Linked DNA regions of Homo sapiens: regions 1 and 3 are each linked to region 2. The links are contacts of gene promoters, found by promoter capture Hi-C in blood cells and fetal thymus (Javierre and others, 2016). All regions are on one chromosome and are shown on one strand. Each heading gives the region's core, a stretch centred on a gene start or on the middle of the fragment in contact. The rest is flanking DNA. Distances are from core to core; before and after follow the strand shown. Region 1 has its middle 16 kb from the start of MAPK6-DT. Region 2 holds the start of GNB5 (G protein subunit beta 5). Region 3 overlaps LEO1 (LEO1 component of Paf1/RNA polymerase II complex).

The links. The method cuts DNA at HindIII sites, captures the fragments that hold promoters and counts their contacts. A CHiCAGO score of 5 or more calls a contact.
Region 1: a contact is called between a fragment that was not itself captured here and the fragment with the promoter of GNB5 in region 2, in 11 of 17 cell types (naive CD4 T cells, naive B cells, total CD8 T cells and 8 more). The highest score is 8.8, in naive CD4 T cells.
Region 3: a contact is called between a fragment that was not itself captured here and the fragment with the promoter of GNB5 in region 2, in 1 of 17 cell types (M1 macrophages). The highest score is 6.7, in M1 macrophages.

The regions. Positions count from the first base shown.
Region 1 is chr15:52,001,022-52,005,129 of GRCh38, reverse strand. It overlaps a transcript of MAPK6 not described here. Among named protein-coding and RNA genes, the nearest start is that of MAPK6-DT, 16 kb to the left of the region's middle. The HindIII fragment of the contact is 2,222 bases long and covers 810-3,031 here.
Region 2 is chr15:52,188,726-52,193,408 of GRCh38, reverse strand. It overlaps GNB5 (G protein subunit beta 5), which reads left to right and starts at 2,017. Exons shown (of 13, transcript NM_016194.4): 1 at 2,017-2,087. It overlaps MYO5C (myosin VC), which reads left to right. Exons shown (of 41, transcript NM_018728.4): 41 at 1-1,087. All of the region lies in intron 2 of CERNA1 (competing endogenous lncRNA 1 for miR-4707-5p and miR-4767), which reads right to left. RefSeq lists an enhancer at 1,420-1,919. The HindIII fragment of the contact is 7,593 bases long and covers 471-4,683 here.
Region 3 is chr15:51,947,568-51,952,030 of GRCh38, reverse strand. LEO1 (LEO1 component of Paf1/RNA polymerase II complex) reads left to right here. Exons shown (of 12, transcript NM_138792.4): 9 at 52-187; 10 at 2,037-2,223. Among named protein-coding and RNA genes, the nearest start is that of LEO1, 22 kb to the left of the region's middle. The HindIII fragment of the contact is 6,257 bases long and covers 1-4,463 here.

The DNA.
Region 1 (4,108 bases), core at 671-3,170, 190 kb after region 2:
TGTTCTTCTTTGTTTCCTCAGTGTTTAATGTGTAAATTGGTAAAGATATTTTTTAAAGTGTAGCGTTCACATGCTTATTTACCCCTCAAAGAAATGTCGTCCAACAGTGAAACATGAGGCATGCTCAAGCATGTTGCTGCAAAGGAAGAAGGTCAAACACAGTCTCTGCCTGCATCTCTCCACAGAAAGCAGGAGTCCCTTCCACGCTCAGCCTCAGAGCGACAGAAGGGAAAATCCAGAGTGGGGTTGCTATGGTTTGAACGTGTTCCCCAAAAAGCGTATGTTGGCAACTTAATCCCCAATGCAGCAGTGTTGGGAGGTGGGGCCTAATTGGAGGTGTTTAGGTCATGGGGGCTCCACTCTCATGAATTGAATCATGCTGATTATAATAAAGCTGGAAGCTTCAAGTTCAATGTCTTGCCCTCTGGAGATCGTTCTTGCCCTCTTGAGATCACTCTTGCCCTTCTGCCTTCTACCATGAGATGATGCAGCAAGAAGGACCTCATTAGATACTGTCCCCTCTTAGACTTCCCAGCCTCCACAACTGTGAGCCAAATAAATTTTTTTCCTTTATAAATTATTCAATCTCAGGTATTCTGTTATAAAAAGCACAAAACAGACTAAGACATGGGTGTAGCTGAGAGGGCCAGTGAGAAAGGGAAACAGGGGCAACTATATAACCCCTCAGATACCAACAACCGCTATAATAATAAATGGATCTACTTACATGAAAGCAGCTTATAGCAATCTCCTTTAATTAGCCCGTGGTCCTTTCTAACAAAGAAAAATCCCTTCCACTTTTAGAAGCTTCTGATGAAGGCTTATGGATACTGCTTCCAAAGGAAAGATAAAAGGCAAAGCATTCCTAGGGAAAAGGAGGAAAGACGTATTTGTAAAATGATTTAGCTGTACAGCAGGTTATGAAGGAGTGAAAAGGAAAAGATTAAAATGGTTCTTTCCCTCCTCCCTCTGTGACTCAGATTAATCCTAAAAATAATCTTCATCCCAGTATGAGACGCTTAGTAAAGACTCACATCTCCACAGACCAATTTTCATGATGGTCGTGGGGAGGAAAGGAACAAAAGGAAAAGGGAGATAGGGAACAGGAGCTACTAAAGGTAGTCTAGAAGAGACTTCACCTACTCAGAAGAGGTGAGGTGAAATTAAAGGCCAGTGTAAATGTGAGGCAATAAGCATTTTGCATTCTTGCCCTATTCTGAAGTCTTGGAATTATATTGCATCAGCAAAGATGAAACTTCAATTTACTGTTTCACTCTTATCTCTCACTAATTCTTCTGGCCATCCCTATTTTACTCATTCAAATGAATTTTCATCTCTTCAACATCATGCTCCTTTCTTTGCATCAGCAACAGGAGGCTCTTGACATTTTTTCAGTCACATTTAATTTGTGTAAGTCTGTCCATTTGTTTTAAAAGCATTTTATTTTTAAAGTTTTTCAAACTAACAGAAAAGTTGCGCACATAGCATAATGAATTTTTACCTGAACAATTTGAGAGTCAATTGCTGACATGATACCTGTGGTGGATGTTGAGATGCTTTGACCAGATCCCCCTCCAAGGAAAGACTTGCTGCCCTGCTGTGGGGACTGTGCTCAGCACACAGCTGTCAGCTACCATTTCCTTCCGGGTTTGCCTCATGTGCAGAGAGCTACCTTGCCCAAGAAGATGTGCCTTTTCTGGGTTGCCCAAATCTGATGACTGATCAAGGCAGAAGTAGAAAGGTGATATGGTTTGGCTCTGTGTCCCCACCCAAATCTCATCTCAAATTGTAATCCCCATAATCACCATGTGTCGAGGGAGGGAGCTGGTGGGAGGTGATTGGATGATGGAGGCGGGTTTCCCCCATGCTGTTCTCGTGATAGTGAATGAGTTCTCACGAGATCTGATCGTGTTTTTTTTGTTTGTTTTTTGGTTTTTTTTTTAAGACGGAGTTTCCCTCTTGTTGCCCAGGCTGGAGTGCAATGGTGCAATCTCAGCTCACTGCAACCTCTGCCTCCTGAGTTCAAGCAATTCTCCTGCCTCAGCCTCCTGAGTAGCTGGGATTACAGGCATGCACCACCATACCCTGCTAATTATTATATTTTTAGTAGAGACGGGGTTTCACCATGTTGGTCAGGTTGGTCTCAAACTCCTGACCTTGTGATCTGCCCACCTCAGCCTCCCAAAGTGCTGGGATTACAGGTATGAGCCACCGCGCCCGGTGATCTGATGGTTTTATAAGTGTTTGACAGTTCCTCCTTCACATACACTCTCTCTCTCTGTCTCACCTGCTGCCACCTAAGATGTGCTTGCTTCCTCTTCCGCCATGATTGTAAGTCTCCTGAGGCCTCCCCAGCCATGCGGAACTGTTGAGTCAGTTAAACCTCTTTTCTTTATACATTACCCAGTCTCAGGTATTTCTTTATAGCAGTGTGAAAACACTAATACAAAAGGCCTAGCTATTTTGCCCTGTCAGAACAACTCTGATGATCCACTTCCTCTGGAGAGATTCCTGTGTGGGGTTAACTGAGGCTATCAGCCTGCATCTCAGATCAACTTCACCCTCTGCCCAATCTTATTTCCTTTCCCTGCCATTCACAGATGTCGATCCCAAGGGCCCTCCCTAATAAATATCCTGTACACTGAAGTCCGTCTCAGGATCTGCTTCCTGGAAAACCCAAACTACCACAGTCAGAGCCAGGAGAGGTCTGAGAAAGCACAGATAAGATGGAGTTTTGGAACTGGGTCACTCATCCACCTAGCTGGTAGGGAGGACCTGTTACTGGTAATAGATGGAACCCAGATAACCCCTGGCAGAAGGTGGCGGCCAGGTACTAAAACTTTCACTAGTGGTGAACTGGGATTGTATACCAATGGAAGAGAATGTATTAGCTCAAGCAATATATGGCAGAAATAGTAATTCTAAGGACAATGGGATTATATGGTTATTGCTCACCTCTGTTGAAGCTCTAGGAAAAGAAACCAAAAGGCCGAGAGAGTAAACACCAGGCAACTAGAGCCAAATGAAAGCTTTCGCCAGAGGGTCTCTGGTAGCATGTAAAGAGACTTTCGTGACCTAAGGTGGGAAGGCAGAGAATGCTGAGGACAAGACCCAGACTAAATCATCAGTGTAGCCAAACTCCAAAGAAGATTAAACTACCAACCAAATTAGGTCAGGGTTCTGGTTGGGAAAGAGTGAGACTCTGACACATGGGACAGGGACATCTGGGTTGATGCCCCCCAAAATCTTGAATTCCCAGATTCCTCTTGACCCTCTGAGCCTACAGAATTGAGTCATTCTTCCCTATTAAGGGCTACATGCGGCCAGGAGTGGCGGATCACGCCTATAATCCCACCACTTTGGGAGGCTGAGGTGGGCAGATCATTTAAGGCCAGGAGTTTGAGACCAGCCTGGCCAACATGGTGAAACCCTGTCTCTACTAAAAATACAAAAATTAGCCAGGTGTGGTGACTCGTGCCTGTAGTCCTAGCTACTCAGGAGGCTGAGGCAGGAGAATCGCTTGAACCCAGCAGGAGGAGGTTGCAGTGAGCCGAGATTGTACCACTGCACCCCAGACTGGGTGACAGAGTGGGACTCCATCTGAAAAAAAAAAAAAAAAAGAAAGGAAAAGGACAAAGGTATACCATTCAATTCCCAGTTTTGAAACTTACTACAAAACTATGGTAATGAAAAGTGTGGTACTAGCAAAAGGATAGACCTACAGACCAATAGAGTAGAATTGAGAGTCTAGAAATAAACATGTATATCTATGGGTGTCTTAATTTGCTTGTGTGCTATAACAAAATACTTGAGACTGGGTAATTTATAAAGAACAGAAACTTTTTTTCTTGCAGTTCTGGAGGCTGAGAAGTCCAAGCTCAAGGTGCTGGTAGGTTTGGCTGTTTGGTGAGGGCTGCATCCTCTGGAGAGGAGGAATGCTATGTCTTCACATGACAGAAAGTGGAAGGCAAGAGGCTGAACACTGCATGAAATGTTTTTCATAAGGGCCGTAACCCCATTCACGAGAAAGGACCCCCTCATAGCCTCAGTCACCTCTTACAGTCCCCACCTCTTAATGCTATCACATTGGCAACACCTGAATTTTGGA
Region 2 (4,683 bases), core at 768-3,267:
CAGAAGGTTTTCATGAACTCTTTTTACTGAAAATGCCCTGCATTTAAAAATGTTTATTTTAGACCCTTCTAAATTTTTTTTTTTTTTTTTTTTTGAGACTCCGGAGTCTCGCTCTATCGCCAGGCTGGAGTGTAGTGGCATGATCTCGGCTTATTGCAACCTCCGCTTCCTGGGTTCAAACAATTCTCCTGCCTCAGCCTCCTGAGTAGCTGGGACTACAGGCACCTGCCACCACGCCCAGCTAATTTTTGTATTTTTAGTGGAGACAGGTTTCACCATGTTGGCCAGGATGGCCTCGATCTCTTGACCTCGTGATCCGCCCACCTCAGCCTCCCAAAGTGCTAGGATTACAGGCGTGTGCCACCGCGCCCGGCTGACCCTTTTAATTTTTAAGAGTGTTCAATCCGAGATGAATCATTTGAAGTATTTTTATATGTATATCTATTTAAAACTAATATATTATTAAAGCTTAATTGCCATGCCGTTTATCTTCTCTGAAAGAACTTCAAATCTTACCTGCCAACATATTCACCATAATTTTTTTATTTTTTAATACCTTTCATACAATAACTTTTTTAAAACAACCTCAGATTGAAAAAGCAACCTAAATTACTTTCGCTCTCTAATCAGCATTTCAATGTATTTATTTTTAAATTTTCTCAAAAAGTAACTAAAAAATTGTGTCGGACCCTACTTTTGAGAAATCTACGTTTCCCAAGTTTTATGGGAACTGGCTATTCCTTGTCCCGGCACACCTTCTCATTCCTTCCTTTCAGAGCCTAAAACCTCATTTGATAAGCACTCCTAGTCTCTGGCCTGTGGATCCAGTGCTATTCTGTCACCAACCTAAGAATCCCAATTGCACCTTCTGTTTCTGACAGTCACAGGTGACAGCTGTGATTCTATAATACAGACTGGTGTCTTAGAGGTAGGAATAATACATGATTATGAAGCATCACCCTGCTAATACATAATAATGTCTTTTTATATTATAAGTGATTGAGTTTAGTTCATTTCAATACATTGTACATGAAAAAATGAAAAGTAGAACTTTGTAATACTTTAATCAATAAAATTAATTACCAAATGAATTGGGTCAGATTCTTTCATTGCGAGGAGATGACATGTCTCTTAAGTGTACAAGTTGTATGCCTTTCTTTACGGTCATACTGAAAGATGCTAGAATCTTTATAGATTCATAATATCTCATTTAAAGTATATTAAAATGTTTAGAGAAGAAGTAAATATGTCATAAGTGCTGGCTTAGGCTGTGTCTCCAGGGCGCTTCCACACTGTCAGAATGAGGGGCTACTTGGCAGAGAATTGGCAGGGTTTCTGATCCTGAGCTGCGGCCTCCATGCCCTTTCTAGACCTTCCCCACACCATGAGGAGCCATCACTGTTGGTTTTCGGCTTCCATAACTCAGGATTTATGCCTGTTTTATAGCACTTACCCTGGACTGGAAGCCAGAAATGCTGCCCATTTCCTCTGTAGGCCTGTGAGCCCCAGAGGGCAGGTGCCACATCCTCCTCATCCCTGCCTTCATCCTACTGCTGATGAGGTGGGAAGAGAACTGAAGGAGCAAAGTCCCGTTGGAGGACTGTGTGTGTGTGGTGGGGAGTCAACCATGGGAAAAAGTAGGTCATGTTTGGGGACAGGGAGACCTGTGGAGGCTGAGGAGTTTATGTGTGGAAAAATGGGGAAAGGGAGGCACTCATCCCACAGTCTTGATCAGTTCTACAAAGCTGACAGTGGCAAGGAGACCAAAATAGAGAAATGTTAAGAACATGTGGCCCAGGTGAATGTGAGGGCTGCTCAGTGAGTGGGCGCAGACACAGAGGTCAAACCTGCCAAGGCCTCCCTCCACAGAGGGGCTGGGCAGGTTCCAGGGGTGAGTGAGGGATGCAGATGGCAGTGCGTGCCCAGCAGGGAGCATGGAAGTGCTGTGGAGGAAGGAAGCAAGCTGAGCAGCACTCCAGAGAAGATAAGGAGATTAGCCAGTGGGAGACGTGCTTCACACCTCAAGCTGCGCGCTGGTCCTCACCTCTCACCATCTGCTCTGTGGCTCCCAGTGCTGACTCTGGAAGGTATGTGCATGCTGACATTCGGTTAAAATACTCCAGCTTTTGAAATGCTCAGAAAAGCATCCAGATGAGTACAGGGCACAGTGTTAGCAGGTCTTTCTGTGCGGTGGGAGCATGGGTGAGGGGTTTTGTTGTTGTTAATCCGTAGAATCTAATTTTTCTACAATACACATGAATTTATTTTGAAATAGTAAATTTCAAATATTTCAAATTGAAATATTTCAATATTTTTTACATTAATATTGGCATCAGGAAAGAGATTAAGCATACTTAAAATCACTAAGTCAGTTTTAAAATTTGATCCAGGTGACACATGGCAACATAAGCCTCTGAGTACAGCTTATGGGGTTAGAAAGAGGTTTTTAGTTGTAAGTCTGAGATACATCCACATTGTGTGTATCAGTTATTTTTTATTCTATGCTCATTTCACAGTTTCGTCTGTGACTGGTGAACATTTGGGTCTTTCAAGTTTAGGCCTTCTATGAATAGCTGCTATGACATTTATGTTTTTTTTTTTTTTTTTTTTTTTTTTTTTTTTTTTTTTTTAAGGAAATAAGCATTATTTTCTGTGGTGTATGTATGCACGAGTAGAATTGCCTGGTCATAGACTATATCCGTTTCACTTTAGTAGCTCCTACCAACCAGTTTTCTACAGTGGTTATACCGACTTATACTCCCACTAGCAGAGAAAGGCAGTTCCAGTCTCTGCATCCTTGCCCACACTTTGTGTTGTCAGGCTTTTTAGGTTTTCTGATGGCTAAGTAGTTGTATCACATCGTAGTTTTACTTTGTATTTCTATGATGACTAATGATAATGAGCACCTTTTTATATGTTTATTGACCATATAAGTATCCTCATTTGTGAAGTGACTACACAAGCCTTTTGTCCATTTTAAAAATAATCTTTGGGCTGGGCGCGGTGGCTCATGCCTGTAATCCCAGCACTTTGGGAGGCTGAGGCGGGCAGATCATGAGGTCAGGAGATTGAGAGCATCCTGGTTAACACGGTGAAACCCCATCTCTACTAAAAATACAAGAAATTAGCCGGGTGAGGTGGCGGGCGCCTGTATTCCCAGATATTTGGGAGGCTGAGGCAGGAGAATGGCATGAACCTGGGAGGCGGAGCTTACAGTGAGCCGAGATTGCGCCACTGCACTCCAACCTGGGCGACAGAGCAAGACTCTGTCTAAAAAAAAAAAAAAAAAAATTTATTGAGATATGATGTCCACGTTTTGTTTCATGTTTTAAAACCCATCATTTTAAAACATATATTTCAGTGTTTTTTAAGTTTATTTACAAGGATTTGCAACCATTGCCACTGACTCCAGAGTATTTTCATCACCCCGAAAAAGAAATCCCATACCCCTTAAGCAGCCACTCACTCTCAGCTCCCTCCTTCCCCCTTATTCTCTCTTCCCTCCACCTCGCAACTACTCATCTGCTTCATGTCTCTATGGATTTGCTGATCCTGTACACTTCATATAAATAAATCATACAATATGTGGCCTTTTGTGTCTGGCTTCTGTCATAGGATAGCGTTTTTAAGGTTTGACCATGTTGTAGCATGTGTCAGAACGTCATTCTTTTTTATTGCTGAATAGCAGTCTACTGGAGGGATAGACATTTTGTTTTTCATTTGTCGGTTGGTGGACACTTGGGTTGCTTTCACTTTTGGCTAATAATGCTGCCATGAAAATTAGTATGTACATTTTTATGTGAACATATATTTTCTTTTTTTTTGTTCTGAGACGGAGTCTCACTGCATTGCCCAGGCTGGATTTCAGTGGCGCGATCTTGGCTCACTGCAACCTCCATCCCCCAAGTTCAAGCAGTTCTCATGTCTCAGCCTCCCAAGTAGCTGGGATTACAGGCACCTGCCACCACGCCTGGCTAATTTTTGTATAGTAGATATGGGGTTTCACCATGTTGCCCAGGCTGACCTCAGGTGATCTACCCGCCTGGGCCTTCCAAAGTACTGGGATTACAGGCATGAGCCACCACGCCCAGCCAGTGAACATACATTTTCAAGTATCCTGGGTATATATCTAGAAGTAGGATTGCGGGGTCTTATGGTAACAGCTGTATATTTAAGTTTTGAATAACTGCCAAACCGTTTTCCACAGCTGCACCATTGGAAAACGGCTACCCCACTTTACCTTCCCACCAGCAATGTATGAAGGTCCTTTTGTCCATTTTTAATTGAGTTAATGAAGCAGTATTTTAAAAGTAAAAACTGGATATACCCTATGTATCCAAACACGGAAGTTGGTTTAATAAATTATGACACTCCACAGCATAGAATAATGCTGAACCTATTACCAAACAAGGTTGATCTATAAGTGTTAACAGAATAAGTTAGATGAAGAAAGCAAGTAGCCCTATTTGCATGACTACCAAAGCTGTATCTATGTGTTTGTGCCAGAAAAGTCTGGAAGAATAAACAACAAACTAAGGGCAGTGAAAATGCAGGGCATGTGATGGGGGATTCAAGTTTTACTTTTTCATCTTTGGTACTGGTTCTTTTTAAAATAAACACGTATTTCTGTGGTAATTTTTTAAGTCACATATTTAGGTAAAACAGATATCAAAGAAAGTTTGT
Region 3 (4,463 bases), core at 611-3,110, 240 kb after region 2:
CACAAATGTATTTGGTAAACAGTGATATGCTCTTCGTTTATTTCCTGGCAGACCTCACTCTACGGACAGTGCCACACATAGAAAGATGACTCTGTCACTTGCAGATAGGTGTTCAAAGACACAGAAGATTAGAATCTTGCCAATGGCTGGTCGTGATCCTGAATGCCAACGCACAGAAATGATTAAGGTATGTTTGCTAAGCCTAAGCGTTATCCTGGGATTCTTTGGTATATTAGGCAAGTATTTCCCAAAATGCTTGTTCGTCATCTCTTATTGGCCTACCTTTTCCTCTTCCAACTGACATGAATAGGGAGCTGGATTCATTTCCTCAGCATTTGCCAAACAATTGGTGACGTGGCAATGATAGTAAAACAGAAACAGGGCTCAGGTTCTCTCTTCACCAGGCCCTGAGAGTTCAGCAACAAACCGGTGATTGAAATATCTGAATTTTCATGTATAAGTTCAAAGATCATTAAGTCATCTATGTGTGGTTTAGAATCCATGTCAGAAGTCAGTGGAGATACTAGAGAGTAGTGTAAAATAGAGAATAGACCAGGAGTTTGAATGAGAGAGTGCCTAAAGTAGACTCTGGTAAAGAATAAGACGAGCTTATGAGTTTTTAAGGTCAATTTGTAACATTCTACCTGGTATATTTTCAAATTTGACCCAGCTGTTAATTAGGCACAAGTTTATTTGGGGCATTGTACCTAATCGATAGAGCATGTGCTCATATTGGCTATTGGCCTTTCCTGCAGCACTTGATTTGAGAAGCCATATGCAGTAGTACAGGCTCATCATTTCTCCTCTCCATCTTCTCTAATCCCTACTAGATTTTGGCCTTTGCCCACCCTGCCTCTTGTGATTACGTTGTTTAGTGAAGCAGGGCATGGTGAGGCTAAGACAGTCCAGTTACCTCAGGGCCTTTCTTACAAATCTTATGGTCAGGCTCTGCTGAAGGTTTGGCTCTGAGCCCTTGCTTTTTCCTCCATCCTGTATTTGTTCATGGAGACAGATTAAACCAGATCTAATAGCAGTACCTAACCTAGTGGTATATAGCGGCATTTGCTTTGGAGCTGGGCTTGTTCCATTTCCCCACCTTTTCTGTACAGACTAAGGGAACTGGAGGAACCTGCAGATTCCAGTCTCAGCATTATTGGAGAAGCTCTTGAACCACTTTGAGCATCTCCCCACACCCTCCTCCATGTCCCCAGCTCCTGTGAAAATGTAGACTAGGAGTCAGCTGGTTTGTTCTTAGTCCCTGTACTACTGACAGTGATTTTTACTCTAACCTCCGTACAGCCACATACTATTAAAACAATCTGTTCCATAGAATTTCTAGCAATATAATTGGAGTTGTATATGATAATACAGAGCAACGGGATGAGGAAGACCTTCAAAGAAATCCCAGAATATCCCTGAAACCTACTCCAACACCACCCCTACCCCCAACCTGGTTTAACATCAAGGTGCAGAATGCCAGGCAGTGCAAAGGAAATGAAAGGTCTACCTTGTGGCTCTAGGACGCTCCCCAACCTGTCATCAGGAGCCGTGAGGAGCTCTCTGGGTTGAGGGGCTGAGGGGCTGGGACCAGAATATCTGGGAACTATGGGAGTTTGGTAGAGCTGGGGCAGATCAGTTGTCTGTGGTTCAGGGATGAACAGGAACAGCCACTGCTGCTCCAGGGAGTCAATTTAGGTTTCTGCTGGGCATGAATGGGGTTTCTCAGGCGGGTTGCTTCTCTCTGGGTTAAGTGGCAGCACAGAACACCAGCACAGCTCCCGAGGACACACCTGTGCCAATGCCAGTTGGGCCGGTTAGTGTCAGGGCTCCCTTCTGCCGCTTTACCCTTGTGTTGCCTTTGCTCCTGCAAACCAAACCAGAGGGTCCCTGTGGAGCCACAGAGGTGGGATGGGGAACACACACGGCACAGCTGTTATCTGGACCAGACATTACATGCTATTTGTAATAAAAGTGGGTTCAAGTGGGCACAAAAGTAGCTCCTTTTTAGGTTAAAGAGGTTATTTGCTTCTTTACAGAAAGAAGAAGAACGTTTGAGGGCTTCCATACGTAGGGAATCTCAGCAGCGCCGAATGAGAGAGAAACAGCACCAGCGGGGGCTGAGCGCCAGTTACCTGGAACCTGATCGATACGATGAGGAGGAGGAAGGCGAGGAGTCCATCAGCTTGGCTGCCATTAAAAACCGATATAAAGGGGGCATTCGAGGTGAGTCGTGTATGGAAATTACATTTCATCATTTCGGGATTCTGGACTTCATCTTGGCATTAGATGTAATCCGGCTGCCAAGTCACTGGACTTTTTTTTTTTTTTTTTGAGACGGAGTCTCGCTCTGTCACCCAGGCTGGAGTGCAGTGGTGTGATCTCGGCTCACTGCAACCTCTGCCTCCTGGGTTCAAGTGATTCTCCTGCCTCAGCCTCCCGAGTAGCTGGGATTACAGGTGTGCGCCACCACACCTGGCTAATTTTTGTATTTTTAGTAGAGACGGGGTTTCACCATGTTGGCCAGGCTGGTCTCAAACTCCTGACCTCAAGTGATCTGCCCGCCTTGGCCTCCCAAAGTACTGGGATTACAGGCATGAGCCACTGTGCCTAGCCCGGACATTTTATTTTTAAAGAACGAGTTGTCATGAGTGACCTAGTTCATTCAGGTGAGCTTGAAAGGTAGGAACTGCTGTTGTTCCTACTTTGGGTTTTATCCCTTGAGCTTTTGCTTTCTGACTTGAGAATTTGCCAGTTATACTGGAACTTTTGTCAACCTTTTTTATTACCTAATTGGGAATCAAGAAATTAAACTATTCAGAAATTATGTGATATTTTCTTTCATTCTTCTTCTACATTTCTCTTAGATTTACTTTTGCATATTTCCTCCTTTCACAAGTATCACTGATTTCTGATGGTTAACGTTTTTTCCACACATACTGAATTTCAGGCAAATGCTCAACACTTGACATGCATCCTGTTTGATCCTCATAACAACATTATGATCTAGTTGCTCTTATTTCCTTGTTTTTATTGAGGAAACTGAGACTTTGAGAGGTTGACTAATTTGCCCAAAGGCACGTAGTTGCTAACTGGTCAGTTCTTAAACCAAAGTCATCTGACTTCCGAGACATCTGTCCCAGCCGTGACTCTGCATCCACCTGGTTCTTACCCAGGGGTTCCCCCAAGCCAGTAGCAAGACGACATGGTGAAAAGCGAACTAAGAAGACCTGGCTGGCCTTCTGACCCTGCCCGCTCTCATCTGAGTCCTGCCACTTTTTAGTTGTATAACTTTTGAAGAGTTACATAGTTTCCCTTAACTTCTGTTACCTCATTGTGACAAAAACAACCTATTAATAATGGTAGTTAGAACATAAGGTTGTTTTGAAGATTACATAATATAATACATTTAAAGTACTTAGCCCAGAGCCTGGCATATAACAAGTAAATTTTTAAAACACCCAAATTTATTTTTCTCTGACTGTCCCATGAAACTCATTTCTCCTTTTCTTATAGTGACTGCATTTGGTCTGGTGACCTGTTACATATTACCTACCTATTATTTATTTGGGGACCACAGTACAGAGACCCTTTCTTTTTTGTCAATGCTGATTTCCCATAGAAAAAGATTCAATTGTGTGGAAATAAACCACACAAAAATTAAATAAAAATTTTAAAAATCCAAGGATGCTTTAAGAGAGAGAGGTGTGTAACATTCAGGTCACCAGAGATTAAAAATCTAGCACATGAGTCTAGTAGTGCTCAGTTCCATACAGTAATCAGATAGGCAAGGTGTGGGGACAAAGGGAAGGCTTTGGGTTTTGACGGGAGGGGCTTGGTCTAAAGTCCTCGGCTCTTATTCCACCCAGAGGTTCACCTGGGCTTGGGCAGTGGAGCAGATGGGCGCCCCTCTACATCTCTCTTTGAAAGGTCTGCCTGGCAACAAACGGTCTTTACAGGACCAGGAAACCACTTTCTTGCTTTACCTTCAAACTCATTTTGGAATTAACTGTTACTGGTGGAAGAATGTCTCAGGCTTTAATAGTTGACTTCGTAAGAGTAGGGTATCTTGCCTCTTTAGACACCTTGCACACAAACCTTTTTCATCTTTAAAAGTGGTCAGGTTTTTGTATTTTGAGAGGGTAAGTCTGCTTCATTTCCGCATATCTAAAATTTATACTTATCTTTAAATCAAAAACTTTAAAATTATTTGGTTCCCCTGGGAGGAAATATACAGAGGGAACTAAAGATATTTATCAGAAGAAAACATTTAAGAATGAATAGGTCACTGTCTTTGAAAGTTACTCACAGTTGGACACAGTGGCTCACGCCTATAATCCCAGCACTTTAGGGGGCTGAAGAAGGAGGATCGCTTGATTTTAGGAAGTTCAAGACCAGCCTGGGCAACATGGCAAGACTTCATCTCCACTAAAAAGAAAAAAAAAATCAGCTGGGCATGGGTAGGT